2 separate regions of the Homo sapiens genome follow, and region 1 is linked to region 2. The links are contacts of gene promoters, found by promoter capture Hi-C in blood cells and fetal thymus (Javierre and others, 2016). All regions are on one chromosome and are shown on one strand. The core of a region is centred on a gene start or on the middle of the fragment in contact, and the rest is flanking DNA. Distances in the headings are between cores, read along the strand shown.

Region 1 (5,353 bases), core at 175-2,674, 2.2 Mb before region 2:
GGTTTTGTTGTGTTGTTTAAGAGAAGTAGGCTATAGCAGTTAGTATGGGCCCTGGAGCCAGACCATGGAGGTTTTTGAGTCCTGGCACTGTCACTTACTTATTGGCCATTGGACCTTGGGCCTGTTAATTCACTTGTTTGTGCCTTAGTTTCCTCAATAAATGAGACTATAATAGCATCTACCTCATGCTTGAGGTATTGAGAGGAGTAAACAATGTATGTAAAAGTGCTTGGAACTGTCCCTGTGCATTCAAGAAATCTTAAAAATTATTATTAGAATACAGGAGCGGCCGGGTGAGGTGGATCACCCCTATAATCCCAGGACTTTGGGAGGCTGAGGCCGGTGGATCACCTGAGGTCAGGAGTTCGAGACCAGCCTGGCTAAGATGGTGAAACCCCCGTCTCTACTAAAAATACAAAATTAGCAGGGCATGGTGGTGGGCACCTACAATCCCAGCTACTTGGGAGGCTGAGGCAGGAGAATCACTTGAACCTGGGAGGTGAAGGTTGCAGTGAGCCGGGATCATGCCACTGCACTGCAGCCTGGGCGACAGAGTGACTCTGTCTCAAGAAAAAAACAAACAAACAAAAAAACGGGCTGGGCGCGGTGGTGGTTCACACCTGTAATCCCAGCACTTTGGGAGGCCGAGGCAGGCGGATCACAAGGTCAGGAGTTCGAGACCAGCTTGACCAACGTGGTGAAACCCCGTCTCTACTAAAAATACAAAAATTAGCTGGGTGTGTTGATGCATGCCTGTAATCCCAGCTACTTAGGAGGCTGAGGTAGGAGAATCGCTTGAACCCGGTGGTGGAGGTTGCAGTGAGCCGAGATCGCACCACTGCACTCCAACCTGGGCGACTGAGTGAGACTCCGTCTCCAGAAAAAAAAAAAAAAAAAAAATTCAGGAGCACTTAATAAGCGATAAACTGAAGATGAGGAGGAGCCCGAACCTCCCCCAACCCAGCTCAGGGGACTATGTAACCGTGTGGAGGAGGCAGAAGCTCTCAGAGACTAAAGAGTAATTGCTGCGGTAGAGAAGGTTCTAGTACCCAATTTCGCGGGGGGAGATGGGGGAGGCGGAATAATAAGGCAGGAAGAAGAGAATGAAAAAAGGAGGCCTTGGGCGGCTCAGGGCTTGTTCTGAAGCTGATTTAAAACAAAACAACAAAACACATGTATGGTTTCTGCAGGCCACAGGATGAAGAGGAGAGGAGACGGAAAAGAGTTTAAAGGGGCCTGCCCTCTTTGCAGGCACCGGCTTGAACCTGGAGGCGACCTGGTGGGCTGGCCGGCCTGCCCCCGGCCCTGGGTCCCGCGAGGCAGGCGGGCGGGCGCGAACAGACTACAACTCCCGGCATGCGCCGCGGCGGGCGGGTCGCTGCACCTGCTCAGTGGGGCAGCCCCGGGCGCCTGGGTATTGATTATTCCATTGTGTGGGACGCCTAGACTCCAGCCAGTGAATGAGGCGGAGGAGTGAGGGCGAGGAGGAGGAGGAGGAGGAGGGCGAGGAGGAGAAGGAGGAGGAGGAGGAGGAGGCAGGGAGCGAGCGAGTGCCCAGGGTGAATCAATGGAAACCCCCTCACGAAGCCGGGGAAACACTTCAGCCGCAGCCAAATAGCATTGATTATTTTCCTTCACTTCCCTCACCGCCGTGAATTTATTTATTTATTTTTTTCCGTCTCCGTCCCTGACGCCCCGGAGCGAGCGCTGGAGGGAGGGAGGAGGAGGGGAAAAAAGAGGAATCAACACATCGGAGAAGTCCCTTCCAAGAGCCGCCCCCTCCCCTCCCCGCCTCGCGCTGCTCGGTGGCCGCGGTTCGACTCCCGTCCCTGCTTCCAGCTGAGGTGTAAGTGCATCGATTTCCGATGCTGCTGGGTTGGTTTTTTTCTCCTCTCCCTCTCTCTCTTCTTCCCTTCCTTGCTCTTTGGAAGCTCGAGACGGGAGAGGAGGCGCTTGGAGACTGCCGCTGGAGGGGACGGAGAGGGACGGGAAGGGGCTGGGGGAGGGGACAAGGACGGACGGACAGACAGACCGAGAGCCCTGGGAGATAGCAGACAGGGGTGTGGGAGGAAGAGGGCGTGCGCGAGGATGGGGGAAGAGAGATGCGGGGGTGGAGGGAGAAACGGGAACGGGAAAGGCAGAGGCCCGCCGGACAGACGAAGGGTATGGAAAGCCTAGACGGACCGCGCCGAGTTGGGCAGGGAGCGGGGATCCCGGGGGGAAGGGGAGGCCCGGTGAGTGTGAGGGCTCAGAGCTGTCAGCCTGGAGGGTCCTGGGTCTCGGCGGCCCCCCGCCGGCTGTGGGATGGGAGAACCGCGGCCGGCGGGCTGATGGATGGGCTAGCGCGCTGGGGCGTGGAGTGGGAGGGGACGTGGATACTCTCAGTCTTCGTTCGTTTTTGGCTGAAGTTGGGCTTTCCATTCCTTTTTTTGAAAGTGTTGAGTAGGTGAGGGGAGGCCATAAGCCCATTCAAGGTGAAGCGTGTCTGTCCTGCACGCCCATCCTACCACCCCCATCCGCTCGTCTGCCCCTCTGAGCAGCCCTATCATTTTCAAGCACAGGACCACGCTTCCTCGCTGTGCCTGTAGCCCCGCTGATCTCTGTCCATGTGTCCCTGACTTTTGGTTTTGCTGTTCTTCATCTTGTCTCTTCCATCCCATCCATCTCTGGATCTGTATGTCACTGTCTCCACTTGTGACCCTTCCCATCTGAGTGATCCTCTCCTTGTGTGTCTCTATCACTATGTGTCACGCCTTGGCTGCCTGTTCTGTCGGTCTAGGATTCCATGCCCTCTCCTTCAGAGTCTGTCTGGATATCTCTGGCCTTTTCAGGCTACTTTGGAATTTGCTTATCAGTCATGATTGTGGTGGTCACAGTCAGGGCCTGGAGGAGTGGGATGATGGAGCAAATGTGTCTTCGCCAAAGCCTCTAGTGCCTTCAGCATGGCCAGGACAGCCTCCTCTTCCACCATCACCAGAGAAGCTTTGGAACTTCCTAGCATTGTTGACTGTCCCCTTTGCCATGTGCCTGTCTCCCTCATCAGAACCTCACCTTCTGGTCTCATGCGTGTCATCTGCCTTTCCAGGAGCTTCGCACAACAAAACCTCTTCCCTGCTGACTTAATTTTACTCCCTTCCCCCACTGTATCATTGTATATTTTTTATTTCCCCATTTTGCTTCACCCCTTTTTTCCATCTGTTTCCCATGAGCTCTGAGTTTCCACCTTTGTTCCCATAATCTGCCCTCTTCCTACCTTTTCTTCTTGATCACCCTAAGTTTCTAGTTTCTTTTATCCCTTTTCCTCTTATCCAGCATTTTAACCCCAGCAGCAGAAAGTACCAGCAAGCAAAGGGCTGGGAGAGGTGTGGGGTATGGTTTGTGAAGGCACATAAACAGGCCAAGAAATAAATTTAATGAGCTTCCAGGGGCATATAACCCCTCCATCAGTCAGTGCCATTATGTCAGTTAACTGTCAACTTTGATTTTGTAAGGGGACATTCCCTAGGACTCTAAGCTCCACCCTGCCTGGTTGCCCCCCATCCTTCAGTTCATTCTAGATATCAGTTGCTTTTTCTTCACTTTTTAGTTCATCTTCTTCCTAGGCCCCTGCTACTATCATATTTAGATCCAGCACCATTTTTTTTTAATGAGGCAGTGTTTATTAGTGTAATAAAAGCTATCGTATGTAAGGAGCCAAGTTCATTTAGCCTGAAGAACAGTAAGGGTGGATAAAGGATCTGGAGAGTTTACCTTAGTTTTTAGCCCATCATTGTTTTTCCAAACCTCAGGAGCTTGGAAAGGTAAAAGGAGCAGGCAGACATGGGCAGAAGATGGACGATTTCAGAGGTGAACAGAATTAAAGAAAGAAAGGGGTGGTCGGTGCAATAAACACATGGGGTAGAGAAATGTATGACGTGAGGGATGTGCAAAGGAAGGGAGGAAAATCTATGCGGACTCGGGGGCAGGGGAGGAACCAAGGGGTGATTAATAAGAAATTGGAAGAATGAAACAAAACGTGTTGATAGCAATACAGAAGGTAAAAGGAAGAGAAATGATAGAATATTCCTAAAGTGGAGGTCAACAGAAAAAGCACTATGAAATTAATACAGTAGTAAAGAGGGGGAAGGGAGGAATTGCTGAACAAGATGAGATGGGAAGAGAGTATGGTACAAAGAAGGTAAATGGATGGCAAACGAAGGAGTGCTGAGGCAGATCAGAGCTGCACAGAGCTTGGTAGGAGGAAAAGAGGAGAGGATGAGGTATCAAAGGAAACAAATGCCTCTGGTGTGAGGAGGACACAGCGTGACTGATGCGAAGAGAGCGAGAGCACTGCGGGGGCGCCGGGGGGTTGGAAAAAAAGCATAGCACAAATAGCAGGAATACCACTGGGCGAAGCCCCAGAAGAGAGAAATGCCCAAGAGAGGGAGAGAAAGCAGAAATATCCAGGGAAGAGACAGAGAGAGAGAGAACCTCACGAGCATTCATTTCATTGGCCTAATCACTCACTACCCCCACGAAAGGCCTTTGTATTTCATTCCCAAGCCAGAACACAAGCAAAGAGATGAAAAAGTAGAATTCCCATAAACTTCAGCTGAGAGGAACTTGAATCTTCCCAGCCCCTGAGAACCAAAGACCTCAAGCCTCTGATGTCATAAATTGCTGGTATTGCCTTGGCAACCTGACAGGGTTCCTCCCTCCATGATGTCAGAGGCAGCTGGTGTTACCTTGAGACCCATACAGGAATCACTTGCTGCTTTGCCGGGGTGCTGTATCACCTACGGGCCAGGGCCTGGGTCGAATTGGTAGGATTTCTGACTCTGGTAGCTTGACCTTGCCTCCCTGGAGCTCTTCCCAGCTCAGAACAACAGTTGTCACAAATAACTCCTGTTTGTGAGCACCTGAGGTTTGCTAGAGCCTGACAGTAGCAAGAGGAAGGAACCTAAGACAGGGCATTGAGGTCAGGATGGTTGGATCAAAAGGCAGGCAGAGACGGAAGAGGAGGACTAGAAATGGCAGTTACAGAATGTGAAAGGAGAAGGGCTTTGTGAGTGGGGAGGAGAGTTGTTGAAAGTGTAATGGCTTTGGGTTTAGGAATGGAGACTAAAGCTAGAATGCAGAGGGAAGGGATCGGGGCTGTGTGAGTGTAAACTCATTCAGGGATTGAGAAAAGGGAAGGGTTGTGAAATGCCAGAGGGCACAGTGGAATTTGGCTGTACAGAAAGGGGGGAAATGGGACAGAGTCCCCTAGTCTGAGAGACTTAGCTGTCTGGTGAGAGACTCAGGGTTAGTCACATGGTCATCTGAGGAGTGGCTACATCTGTCTAGTTTCCAATTGTTTTCCAGCACCTAGCAC
Region 2 (5,931 bases), core at 2,162-4,661:
AACTCCCAACCTCAGGTGATCCGCCTGCCCTCAGCCTCCCAAAGTGCTGGGATTACAGGCGTGAGCCACCACGCCTGGCTGACTCCCGGCTAATTTTGGTATTTTTAGTAGGGACAGAGTTTCGCTATGTTGGCCAGGGTGGTCTTGAACTCCTAACCTCAAGTGATCCACCTGCCTCAGCCTCCCAAAGTGCTGGGATTACAGGCATGAGCCACCACGCCTGGCCCAGAATTCTTAATATAGAATTGACAGTGAATCTAGCACTACGTTATTCTTGGGACCTGCAGGAATAACTTCTATCTTCAATGAACTTAATCAGAATTTTTAGTCAGAACATCTAGAAGAAGCCATTTAAAATTCAGATATGTAAGTTTTTTATCAATGTGGAACAAAAATTATTTTATTAAATTTAGTGAGGAGTTTCTGACAGTTTTTTGGTGTTCTAGACATGTAGAAATCTTTATCTGATCTGTCTTGAATTTACCCTGCTTTGATGTGCTAATAGAGGATATTATTGTAAATGTCAATTCACATAGTAAGAACAAGTGAACAACTTGCCATCAGGAGACACGAGTGATTTTTTTTTTTTTTTTGAGACGGAGTCTCGCTGTCGCTCAGGCTGGAGTGCAGTGGCGCGATCTCGGCTCACTGCAAGCTCTGCCTCCCGGGTTCACACCATTCTCCTGCCTCAGCCTCCCGAGTAGCTGTGGGACTACAGGCGCCCGCCACCTTGCCCAGCTAATTTTTTGCATTTTTAGTAGAGACCGGGTTTCACCGTGTTAGCCAGGATGGTCTCGATCTCCTGACCTTGTGATTCCCCCGCCTCGGCCTCCCAAAGTGCTGGGATTACAGGCGTGAGCCACCGCGCCCGGTCACAAGTGATTTTTTTTATGTGCATTTACTAATTCATTGTCTTACCCAGACCCCTTCTTAACAAAGGTAAGCATTTGTGAAATGGTTGACTAAAGTAAAGATACAATATAGTCATGGGGAAAAGAAGCAAAAACTGGTTAATATGAGTTTCGGTACAAAATCATTGATCTTAACTTTAGTATCAGAATGTTTCAACCAGCTAAGTCCAGCATTTCCTCCTTCCCATTACCACCAATCAAGCCTAGTATCGCTGTGCTTGTTTTGCCTCTTCTAAGGTACATTCAGTAAAAAAGCATTGTAAGCTAGGACTCTGTTGGCTTTGGTTTCTTTTCTTTTTTCCCCTTTCTTTCTTTTTATTATCTTCTATTCCCTCCTCCTAGGGTCATCACACTGAAACGGTGTTCAACCGGGTTTTGCCAGGGCCTATTGCACCAGAGAGCAGCAAGAAGCGGGCCCGTAGGATGCGACCAGACCTTTCTAAGATGATGGCCCTCATGCAGGGTGGAAGCACTGGGTCTCTATCTCTGCATAACACGTTCCAACACAGCAGTAGTGGCCTACAGTCTGTGTCATCTTTGGGTCACAGCAGTGCCACTTCTGCATCTTTGCCTTTTATGCCATTTGTGATGGGTGGTGCACCATCATCCCCTCATGTAGACTCCAGCACCATGCTTCATCACCACCACCACCACCCCCACCCCCACCATCACCACCATCACCATCCAGGCTTGAGAGCCCCTGGCTACCCCTCTTCACCAGTGACTACCGCCTCTGGTACTACCTTGCGGTTGCCACCACTGCAACCTGAGGAGGATGACGATGAGGATGAAGAAGATGATGATGACTTATCTCAGGGCTATGATAGCTCAGAAAGGGACTTCTCACTCATTGATGATCCTATGATGCCAGCTAACTCAGACTCCAGTGAAGATGCTGATGACTGAAGCCCCAGCATGGGCCCCATTGCTTGGGCGGCTGCTGTATTTTCATTTACTCTGGCCCTTGGACTATGGAAACGTGGGAGGGGCAGGGGAGATGTGGGGAAGTCCAGGACTCCAGGAGGTGAAAAGGAAAAAAAAAAAAAAATGTACCTGATTGCTCCCAATTATGAGAGGATTGGGTGGGCAGGGGAACTCCTAAAATAATACATGACCACTTCCTCATTTCTGGGGAAGGAAAGGAGACTAGAGCAGCTGGTGTGCTCACCCCTCCCTAGTCACCTCCATTAACCACAGACTATGTAGCGCTGGCCCTAGCCTCTGGCAGAGCCTGTTCCTGGCCGAACTGTGGATACAGCTGGAGGGTCAGGAACTGTTACCTTCTTTCCCCTTGGCATTAATAAATTTAAGTTAATCCTTTTCCACTCTTCCTTTGTTCTATGTTTGCTCAAACCCAGTGTATTGATTTTGAGTTGTTAATGGTGGGTAATTTCAGCACCACTTTCCTTAAGTTCAATACTGTTTATACTAAATTGCCTTACAGCAGACAAGTCATCTGTACTCCTCTAAAGGGTATATACAAATGTAGACTGTCCAGCTGGCTAAAGGCAAGGGAATTATTTAAGGTAAATGGTAGGTAGGCAAACTTCTGGATTCAAACTCCAAGTTTTTAGAAGAGACAGGGAGCAAGAATGTCATCAGGAACCATTTATGTTTTGTTTCTAATTAACTGAAGTAACGGTTATTTGGGGGAAGCCATAGAATAGTGCCAGTTTTCATGAACTGCAGCAAGGGGACTGGCCGACTGGAAGGATGCTGCCGCGACTTGGGCTCAGGGGGTGGGGTTGTGGGAAGGAACTAAAAGTTTGTAGAGCCCCTCAAGTCATCTGTTTCCTCTGACTTACACCATCCCACTGCTCAGTTAAAGCTTGCGCATATTATTTTCCTTTCGAAAACTAGGTTCCTCCCCCAGCTTGGGTCGTAGTTTATCACGAGGCTGGGCTCCATTTCCCTGGTATGAGTCCTCTGTCCCGGCGGAGCGCTTGACCCAGCATCCTGGCACCGAGGATCCCTCGAGTCCTGGAGCAGTCAAGGGCTTTTGCATTCCCATCATTTCTAGGAGGGGCGCATGCCCAGTTACACTGTAGTAGTCCCACTTTTATCCCACGCTAGATCCCGCTCTTTCCGCTCCCCCTTCCTTTGCAGATGGGGTGGAGCTATAACACCCGCGCGCGGCAGCTCTTGTGGGCGGGGCAGGCGCCGCCTCCTTCGCTTCGTCTAGGGACTGCCGCCTCGGCAAAAAGTCTGAGGTCCTGGAAACCGCCGCTGGGCTGAGAGTTAATAAGGGCGGAGGCAGACCGTCACGTGACGACGTCGATTCGCGTGCGGCAGTGGCGAAGTTGACAAACCCCGCGAAAATCGACTCTTTGCATCGCACATTTTGTTGATTTTCCCTCGTTTTTCTTTCTCTCTTTCCCCCGTCCATCCGAAAGAGGGTTGGAAAAAAACAAAACAAACAAACAAACAAAAAAAAAACCTAACGCTGTTGGGACCCGGAAGCGGAAAGGGCATCTTTGAGGTCGATACTTCCGGGTCATTGGGAGAGTGCGGGATTCCTGGGCCGAGAGCGGGTGGCTGAGCCGGGACCTCGCGTGATTCTCGGAACCCGAGGAGAAGCGGCGTCCGGGGCTATGGCTGTGACTCTGGACAAAGACGCTTATTATCGGCGAGTGAAGAGACTGTACAGCAATTGGCGGGTGAGGAAGATCCTGTAATTTTTCCTAGGGAGCCCCCTTAGCCATCCCATAATAACCCTGTTTCTCGGCGCCCTTTTTTCTCTTTCGGTCAGGAATTCCCGGGTTCTGTGCCTCACCCTTTTCGTTGCTCCCGAATCATTCACCGGAGGCGGCCACGAACGCTGCCCCTTAACAGGGAATCCCCCGCATTCACCCTGTCCTGCGGCCATCACCATCTTCCCCGCGTGCCAGCCTTGGTCATGCATAGCAGCACCTCTCGCAGTCTCTTCCCGCCCTAGAAGAGGCAACATCCTTCCCTCCTACTCCGTGGTCACGTCTTGCTGCCCTCCCCTGCCGTGTTCTCACGCACTCGCTCTGTCCCTCCAGAACCACAATATTCCACCCCTGGTCCCGCCAGGATTATAACCGTCTTCGTAAAGGAGAGATGGAAGGGCAAGGAGGATGTCAATCGGGCTTTTAGCGTTTATCGTTTGCGGGGCTTTTGCTGGAGTTAAAAAAAGAAATACTGCTCACGCGCAACCGCCTCATGTTCTAGGCCCTGCTGTGGGTTACAGAGAGGGACCTAACGCTGAAAGCCTGCAGGCATTAGTAATAACAAAACAAAACAAAACGATGCCTAAAACCTTATTAGTTCCTTGGTAGCGTATCCGGGGCACGTGTTCATTAAAAGAGCTGTGGCAGTTCCCAGTTTTTTAAAGATTCGGCAGTTTTGCTGCTCTAAAAACGTCCACAGTTAAAACTTATTTTTATGATGTTAACTTACTAATTGAGCAAACATTTGGTTGCATTCTGTGATGCAGTCTGAGTTGGCTAGCTTAAGTCTTGCCCCTGAACCCTGTCATCAAGGGAAGATACAGCTAATAAAGATTTTTTTTTAACCTGAAAAACGTTTTGAGAAAAATGATCAGCTCTCATTTCAGCATTGTAAATTATCTTTCAAACTGGTCATCTACTAAAACCAAGCCATTAAAATTGGTCGTTTCCTTGCCATTCATATTAAAGCTGTCTGTGCATGTTTCATCTTTTGGGGCTAAATACATTAGATAATTGAAAATAAAATTGATTCTCTTGCATTTTATGAAAAGGAAAAATAAGAACTAAATGCTAGATGAATACTGAACATTTTATTTTTTTTAATTTTTTGATTAATTTCTACCAAATGATTTTTTGCAGCTTCTCTCAGTGTCATATTATTCAAACATAATCGATGTTAGAAAAACATTTTAAAACCTTGATACTTTCTAATGATCAGTAAGTACTAAAAATCCGAAGCCCTCTCTTGTACCCATAAACCCTGAAACTGTGAACCTTTGGTATGAAAATTGTTTCTAGTCCCAGTGATTCAGATTCATCAAATAATTTCATTCTCTCTATACCATTCATGAAAACTAATCTATAGCTCTCACTTCCTCTACATGACAAATTAACTGTGGCCTGAAGACAGGTTGGCAAACCTAATAAAACTGATAGTCTTTAAATCCATGAAAGTTATTTCCCACCCACCATTTTTTTTTGTATCTCAAAAATCTTTAAAGTTTATCTTGGCCCTCTTACTACCTTAATGACATCATCTTGGGAGAATGTTAGATATTGATAAGACACTGATGGTGTAAAGTTATGAGCCAAATCTATGTAAAAATGTACCAGTTAACAAAACCTGTGGCTATTATGAAAAACTTACTTGAATAAGACTTTCTGCTTTTGTGTTAATGTGTCCAGAACCCACCTGTAGAAGTTCTTTGTGTATGCAGTCTTTTCACCCTACAGTGCTTTCATTCTGATACACTTAATCAGAGATAGTAGTTTTCTGGGTTAAATCTAGTCGCTTATCCTCCTGGATATAGCAGAAAGATAGTGGGATATATAGGTGTGTTGTATAACTTTTCTCTTTTACACCTTTTCCTTTTTTTAATAAGAAAACTGGGATTGAAATAGAATAAGTTGAAGTTAATGGTAAAAATTCCAAACCTGGCTGGGCACCGTGACTCATGCCTGTACCCAGCACATGAGGCCAGGAGTTAAAGACCAGCCTGGGCAAGATGATGAGACCCCCGTCTCTACAAAAAAAAAAAAAAGGCAAATAAATTAACCAGGCATGGTGGTGTGTGCCTATAGTCCTAGCTACTTGTGATGCTGAGGCAGAAGGATCCCTTGAGCCCAGGAGTTTGAGGCTGCAGTGAGCTGTAATCGCATCACTGCACTCCAGCCTGGATGAGACCCCGTCTTTAAAAAATAAATTAAAAAAAAAAAAAATAAATCCCAAGCCTTTTGCTTTCAGCTTCCATCTTAAAAAAAAAAACTGTTATGACTAAAATTAACTAAAAAATGATTTGGGCTCCAAACCCACTTTTAATTTTAAATAC

Evidence for each region. The method cuts DNA at HindIII sites, captures the fragments that hold promoters and counts their contacts. A CHiCAGO score of 5 or more calls a contact.
Region 1: the fragment with the promoter of ZFHX2 here is called in contact with the fragment with the promoter of SUPT16H in region 2 in 1 of 17 cell types (non-activated CD4 T cells); the score reaches 5.2 in non-activated CD4 T cells.

Annotation. Positions count from the first base shown.
Region 1 is chr14:23,547,836-23,553,188 of GRCh38, reverse strand. ZFHX2 (zinc finger homeobox 2) reads left to right here and starts at 1,424. Exons shown (of 10, transcript NM_033400.3): 1 at 1,424-1,846. It also overlaps a transcript of THTPA not described here. RefSeq lists enhancers at 1,071-1,120, 1,970-2,632, 4,756-5,353 and a silencer at 1,251-1,490. The HindIII fragment of the contact is 16,619 bases long and covers 1-2,984 here.
Region 2 is chr14:21,381,499-21,387,429 of GRCh38, reverse strand. It overlaps SUPT16H (SPT16 homolog, facilitates chromatin remodeling subunit), which reads left to right and starts at 3,411. Exons shown (of 26, transcript NM_007192.4): 1 at 3,411-3,568. The coding sequence starts at 3,503. It overlaps CHD8 (chromodomain helicase DNA binding protein 8), which reads left to right. Exons shown (of 38, transcript NM_001170629.2): 38 at 1,254-2,231. The coding sequence ends at 1,817. It overlaps LOC107984643 (a long non-coding RNA gene), which reads right to left and starts at 3,157. Exons shown (of 2, transcript XR_001750627.2): 1 at 2,717-3,157. The HindIII fragment of the contact is 3,293 bases long and covers 2,742-5,931 here.